2 separate regions of the Homo sapiens genome follow, and region 2 is linked to region 1. The links are contacts of gene promoters, found by promoter capture Hi-C in blood cells and fetal thymus (Javierre and others, 2016). All regions are on one chromosome and are shown on one strand. The core of a region is centred on a gene start or on the middle of the fragment in contact, and the rest is flanking DNA. Distances in the headings are between cores, read along the strand shown.

Region 1 (3,615 bases), core at 522-3,021:
TGAAATTGAAAAAGTTGCAGTGTGTGTGTACATGGTGCATCCCCCCAAGATCTATCCATAAGAATGGCTTGCTTTTTGCTTATTTATATAAAACCCACTATGTTAAAACAATGATTTTGTTTAATAATTTACAAATTTATCAATGATTTATACATCTTAATTTTCAGTAATATGCAGTATTTGTTGCCAAATGGTGTAATACAATTATGAATGTCTGAAGATAATAAAACCAAGATGAGTAGAAATTTAAGAGTTCTTTGGGGAGGTCTGTTTCAGGTATAAAATAATATGCAATAATATGAAAGTGATTGGGTCTGGAATTATAATTTACTAAAGTAAACATAATTTATAAATAGCTATTAAAGGAAAACTAGGATATAATTTTTTCTCTACAAAATCTTTCCGTTTTGTGGTAAGTAAACAGATACATACTAGATTCTGCTTCAGTACAAGTTTACAAAAGGCAGTCTGAACTATTTGTGAATTCATTTTAATTTTCCCTCTCTACAACCCTTTCCAAAAGTTCCTCAAATACACTTTACCTCTCAATCTTACAGCGTTTCCCCTTTCCTATTAAGGTCCTTACCACATGTAATTTTGCCAAAGTTGCTTTAAAATAAAATAAGCACTAAAAGGAGAGAGTATGTGACATTTTTAGAGTAATATCTATAGCTATAGCATTAAACCCATGTTTCTCACGGAGAAAACATCTGTGCGTAGATGCTCCAGAATAAAATGCCCTAGAAACGAAACGGACTATATTCAGAGTAAAATTACTGTCGTGTCCCAAACTTAAAAAAATAAATAAACTGTCAGCAACTATTAGGCATACAGCAGTTGTCACTTGGAGCACACGAATGTTCTGAATGTGTTTGTGAGCATACGCTATTAGTATAAGGCTTTCTCAGCAAAAAAGAAAATAGGACGAGCATGCCAAGAGCGGCCAATCTAATCAGGATTTGCAGAAATCACAAGTCGGAATTTGCAGATCCAAGAATTCTTGTTTCCAGAGTAAATACTCTACTCCAAAAACAAACCCAGGCGTTACCAAACAGTCCTTCCCTGCGCCCCTTCTCGCCAAAGTTATCTGGCGAATTTCACGTTTATATATTCTGAGAGGCACAAATATGCCTAACACATTTAAAACCCTGATCCAGAATTAACCCGCAACAATCGGCCAGGGCGTTCGGAATAGAAGTTCAAGACTCCTTTTAGAAATTACTCAAGTATATGAGAGCGAACCTGAAAAACAAGACTTTTCTCTTTGTTACGCTCCCGCTACGGGTCTGGCCGCCGCGCCCCATTCTCCGGGATTCCGGGGCCGCGGGCGCGCTCCGGGGTCCGGGCGAGTGGACACACCCCACCGCTCGGGCCAGCCGCCCGCCCCTCCCGCCGGCCGGGGACCGCGCCCTCACCTGCTCCCGCTCCCGCTCCCGCATCCTCGGGGCCGCGCGCCCCGCTCAGCGACCCGCCTCCCGGGGCCCCGCCGCGCGGCCGCCGCAGCCGCACCCGCACGCCAGCCCGGGCCGCGGCGCGCTCATGGGGCTCGCACGCCTCACTTCCTGTCTCCAAAAACCCGGCTCGCAGACCATTCCCCTGGGCAGAGTCCGGCGGTGGCGACGGCGAGGGGCGAGGCCTGGAGGTGGGACCGGCCGGCGAGGAGCGCCGCACAAAGAAGCCCCGTGGGGGCGGGGGGTGGCAGGAGGACGGACAGACCGTCGGACCGACGCGGGACGCGCGGCCGGAGCAGCGGGGCGGCCGGGCCCAGGCGTCCCTCCCCCTGAGCCGGGCGGGCGGATCCGGGGAGGCGGCGGCGGCCCGTGACCTCAGAGAGTTGGAATGCGGGCAGCCGCGCGGGGGAGGCGCGGACAGCTGCGCCCGGCCGCCGGGGAGGGGGCGCGCCGCTGCTTTTTTTAATCGTATGACCACTTATTTTAAGAGTTTCCAAATAAAGCAAGGCTTTTAATAAAATGAGTGGAGGGGGTATTATTTAGGTTCCAGATAAAGGGTTTTATTCCTGTGTTATTAGGTAGGCTGTAAAATGCTGTTATTGATGGTTATTCGTTTACTCTGGTATATTTCTGAACACTATTGGAATACATTTCTTCTTTTCCTGCTTGCTCCTAAGGTTATGCCCCATATAACTAGACACTTCCAGTACTGGGTGGGAAAGCCCCCCCACCAAAAATGGTTCATATGCCTCAAATAACCTGTCAGTCCCCAAAAGGGAGCTGTCTGCTTATGCAATATAGAGCAGAACTGTTAAGGATGGAGACTTGACAAAGTTGTCAAATCCCAGCTCCAACATTTACTAGCTGGATGACCTTGTGCAAGTTTCTTAACTTCTCTTTACCTGTTTCCTCTCCTATAAAAGAGGGATATTAATATCTTTGCACAGCAGGGGTGGGGGAAATAAATACTAAGCAATATCCAATAACTTGTGTAAAGTATATATGAAGTGTTTCGTTTAAGGTTTATTATACAGTATTCTTGTACTGCATTATTACTGTATTGCAGCACTTAAGCTGAGGAATAAAACTGTGTGACCCTACCACTATTACAATAGTGTAAGATCTTTTCTTGGCATGTGGAACACAGAACCTTTTAATTTATGTAAATTTTAATTTCAGTGATTTTGTTTTAATGCTGTTGTTTCTGGAAAGCTTTTTAAAGTATTGTTTCATGTAAATCTCATTTTCTTAAACAATTAACAAAAACTTTTGAATACTTAACTCTGCATGAGACGTGGTCCCTGCACAACACGGACTTTTGGTTTAGTGGGTGATAAACGCACCTGCACACCACACACGCAGTACAAGGCCAAAGTGGGGAGCATTGTCATAGAGGTATGAGTGCTATCCAAGAGCAAAGCCCAGCAAGGTGCATCTTGGGTCGTTTAGCTAAAGGCAAATAAGATTACCTGTGTTTCTAAGGGAAAAAAAATAGATCAATTCTGTTTGTAATTGATATTTCAACTGAACTCTATGAGGGGGTCAATTTGTGTGTGAGCAAAGAAAAGAGATCTAAAAAGAAGTCACTTTGCTGGCTTCCCAAGGTAGAAAAACTGGAATCATGTGTGACTTCTCCCATTATCATCTCCAGCCTGTCATCAAGACCTGGTATTTCCTCCTTTGAAATGTCTCATGAATTCTTTGTTTCCTTTCTGTTCCCCCTGGAACATTCTAAATCCAAACCCTCATCATTTTACATCCGGATTATTGCAACAAGGGTGGTCTCCTGGCATCTGGTTTCTCAGTTCTCTCTTATTTCCTTGCTAATACCAGGCTTCCTTCTCTTATCACTCTTAATGGACTCCCAAGGTTAAGTTCTTCTGCCTGACCTATAGGGACTTTCCAAACGGGCCTCTCTGACCACCTATATCGCTTTCTGCCCCTGTCAAGCTTTGCCCCTGGCCAGCAGCCCCTCCTGCCCTCTTTCCACTTGTCTAAGCCTTCTGCTTCTCTGCAAGTAAGACTCTGCTTCCAGGATGACTTTCTAGCCACACCATTCCACAGTGATCTCCACACTTGGCAAGAACTGTAAAAGTTGTTTCATGACGGCTTCTTTTATATCTCCTAGGATTCCTAGGACAGTACTGGGCAAAGAGTAGGCACT
Region 2 (3,585 bases), core at 577-3,076, 320 kb after region 1:
ATTTTTTAGAGTTGTTTAATTCTTGTTTATTAATTTTTCAGTTTCTAGAACACTAAATTTTGTGCTAAGAAATGGCACATATGATCTTGCTTTAAAGGAATTTACCATATTTCATGGACTCTAAAAACACATTTTTTTTCACATTTTAACATCTCTGAACTTGAGATACATCTTAAAATGGATAGCATCTTTTTATGGCCAAGTGGCAGTTGCCATGTAGTTGTCATAGTCTGTTTATATGGAAACTTGGGTAATTACTCTTGGGAGCATGGTGAACCTGGTAATTATTACTGGTTGTAGCCTGAAAGCTTTTGTTGACACCTGCTGGTAAGATCAAGAAAATCAAGAAAACACAGGTATCAGCATAGCAGAATGACTGTCCATAGGTTGGAAGAAAATCTTGGAGACAATAGTGGAGCACTTTTAAGAAATATTAAAAGTGGATTTTAAATGTTCTTACCACAAAGTATGCAAAAGAGTGATCTGTGATGCAATCTGTGTATGAGTATGTCTAAATATCAGTGAGGATCAAATAAAAATTCTGTTTAAAAAAAGCACTGCATGGTGCTTCTTAACAATCAGTAGAGTCTCTTATATTTGATATGATTAAAATTTAATGAAAAGTATGAGTCCTTCTCTAATGAGAACAAGTTCACATAATAAACACCATGTAAGTTGAGAGGTAGAAGACAGCTATGTGAAGTGAAGGCATTAGGGAAATCTTCATGAAGGATGTGGAGCCTGAACAGGGCCTTGAAGGTGGACTTGAGAAATATAACATTCATTGATAACATTAGATGCATACATTTATGATTATCAGTATTTTAGAAAGAATATATAATAACTGTAGAAGGTTTATTTAGTTTTTCATTTTGTATGTATTTCTAAGCTTGGTCTTGGTTGCTGTCTTTTCTTTCCTGGACTTTTGATCTTCCTGCTACCACTCTTTCCTATTTTGGTATGTCTAGCATGCAGCAGTCAAGTTATTCTTTCAAAATGCAAATATGATTGTTATTCCTCTCCTAATGGATTTCTCTCAACTAGAAAAAAAAAAATCTGAAGTTCTCACCGTGGCTTACAAAGGCCCTGGCTGCCTCTCATCTCCTTTTGTGCCACTTTCCCTCTTCCCAGCCTCATTTACCTTCGTGTGGTTCTTCATATGTGACAAGCACGTTCCCCTCTCAGGCTCATACATTTGCTCTTCCCTCTGCCCAGAGTGAGCTTCCCCCAGATATGCTCAGGGCTTGATCCTTCACTTCACTCAGGTCTTTTCAAATAGCACCTCCTCCAAAGTGGCCCCTTCCGCCACCCCTTCTGAAGCACACTCTCCCTGCTCTCTCTCTCCTTCTCTGTTTCTCTTCACAGCACTTAACCTTCTCTTATATTACATATTTGTTTGCCTTTCATACCAGATGTCACCTCCCTGAGGACAGTGACTTTCTCTTTTTGTTCATATTGTATCCCCAGGGTCTAGAATGGAGTCTGGCACATGGTAGCCTCTCAATAAATACTTATTGAATGAATGGACTTAAATCAGTCAGAAAAAAATAATTTTTTGTCCAATATTAATAAAATATTGCTCTTCTCTCTTGATGGAGAATAGGAAATGAACAATATGTCATCAGCAGCAGAATATTACAAAGAAGTTTTGAAACAAGACAATACTCATGTGGAAGCCATCGCATGCATTGGAAGCAACCACTTCTATTCTGATCAGCCAGAAATAGCTCTCCGGTTTTACAGGTGCACTTCACATCCAATTCTTAGAACCACTTTCCTGTGAAATATTGATAAAATAATAAGAAAGATGGAATGAAAGTATAGAGAAATAAGGTATAGGCCATGTCTTTATGAAACTCAAATGTCAACACTGAGATATATAATGAGCATTGAAGTGACATCCAATAATTTGGAAACATGCAGATGTCTGGCATCTTGCAGAAACACACTGGACAACTGACTGAGTTTTAAACCTCATTGTCATTGTATGTGTTAGCCATTTTGTCATCAACCAATAAGTTGAATAGTTACTTAAAACTTATCATCATCATTGCCTCCGTTAATACCATTAAACATAAAGACACTGAAATTGAAAGGTGAAAAGATTTGCAAAGAGCATTTGGCCTCATGTTCTGAACCTTGATGAGGACCTGAAACAGAATCACCTGTTTTGTGCAGCATTGTTGGTTCTTGTCCCAATATTTTTTCAGTCTAAATAAATTATATTCACTGATTCTCTTTTAAGTACTTATTTCATCCTACATATGACTTCTGAAATTAATTTTTAAATTATGATTTCCTCCTTAGCCCTTGGGTAATATAGAAAGAGATGACTGGCAGCTGACAAGGGTTCTTTCCAAATATGTGTTGGAGGCATAAAATGTAATAATAAGAACACTATTCTGTGCACCTGCAGCTGACTCTACTCCCCAACCCCCAAAGTGGGTCATGGGTTTCTCACGGCAGCTGGGCTGGATTTTCATTTGCTCATATGAACTCGCTTGTCCTTTGTCCCATGGGATTAATTATGCATAGAAGCAAATGGGGCTCTTGAGCTGCAGTGTGAGAGCTAAGTGGATAATGTAAGGATCCGCTGATGGTCTTGTCTTCCTCAGTGGAAGCTCATTGGAGTTCAGTAGACACAGCTGAAGCACAAAGTACAGCGAGCCAAAAACGGGATCCAGTCAGCTGAAAACGTAGAGGTTAATGCTAAACGCAGTCCTCAAATTAGATTAGGTTTTAGGAATTTACCCTATGGGCAGCAAAGCTTTATAAAGCTGAAGTGTGTGGGCGTTACTTTTTGTGACTATTTCTTATTTTGGTTCTCTAACAAAGCATTTGGGGAGAAAACTTAGATCAGTTGTTTGTCTTTGTCTCTAGACACATTCCCCATGACTAGTACCATTATGAAAGAGAGGTGTTTGTATTTGCTTTAAACATTTTTTCATTTACTATAACACGTATTTATATTCTTAAGGAGTATCAAAAATCACAAGATGAATTCATTTTTAACTGTGTAAAATATATATATATATGTCTTAAAACTTACAAAGTTGGTCTGACACCAAAATTTGTGTGTTCTTTTTTGAAAAGGCGGCTGCTGCAGATGGGCATTTATAACGGCCAGCTTTTTAACAATCTGGGGCTGTGTTGCTTCTATGCCCAGCAGTATGATATGACTCTGACCTCATTTGAACGTGCCCTTTCTTTGGCTGAAAATGAAGAAGAGGCAGCTGATGTCTGGTACAACTTGGGACATGTAGCTGTGGTATGTTGTCTTACTGATATAATTTCTGTTATAGAAAGTTGGTTTGAGCCAGACACAGTGGCTCATGCCTATAATTCCAGCATTTTGGGAGGCTGAAGCAGGAGGATTGCTTGAGCCCAGGAGTTTGAGACCACCCTGGGCAACATAGTGGGACTCTGTCTCTACAAAAAATTTAAAAATTAGCTGGGTGTGGTAGTGCACATCTGTAGTCCCAGCTACTCTGAGGGCTGAGGCAGGAAGATCACTTGGGCCTAGAAGGTCAAGGCTGCAGTGAGCTGTGATCGTAGCACTGCACTCCAGCCTGGGTGACAAAGTGT

The links. Contacts are between HindIII fragments. The CHiCAGO score rates a contact against its expected background, and 5 or more counts as called.
Region 2: a fragment that was not itself captured here is called in contact with the fragment with the promoter of PTPN21 in region 1 in 1 of 17 cell types (naive CD8 T cells); the score reaches 5.3 in naive CD8 T cells.

What each region holds. Positions count from the first base shown.
Region 1 is chr14:88,553,236-88,556,850 of GRCh38, forward strand. It overlaps PTPN21 (protein tyrosine phosphatase non-receptor type 21), which reads right to left and starts at 1,772. Exons shown (of 19, transcript NM_007039.4): 1 at 1,416-1,772. It overlaps LOC124903405 (proline-rich protein 2-like), which reads right to left and starts at 3,555. Exons shown (of 2, transcript XM_047432047.1): 1 at 3,528-3,555; 2 at 1,422-1,825. The coding sequence starts at 3,555. The coding sequence ends at 1,461. RefSeq lists a silencer at 1,730-1,779. The HindIII fragment of the contact is 3,064 bases long and covers 1-2,661 here.
Region 2 is chr14:88,868,456-88,872,040 of GRCh38, forward strand. It overlaps TTC8 (tetratricopeptide repeat domain 8), which reads left to right. Exons shown (of 15, transcript NM_144596.4): 11 at 1,604-1,743; 12 at 3,094-3,268. Among named protein-coding and RNA genes, the nearest start is that of TTC8, 46 kb to the left of the region's middle. The HindIII fragment of the contact is 1,878 bases long and covers 888-2,765 here.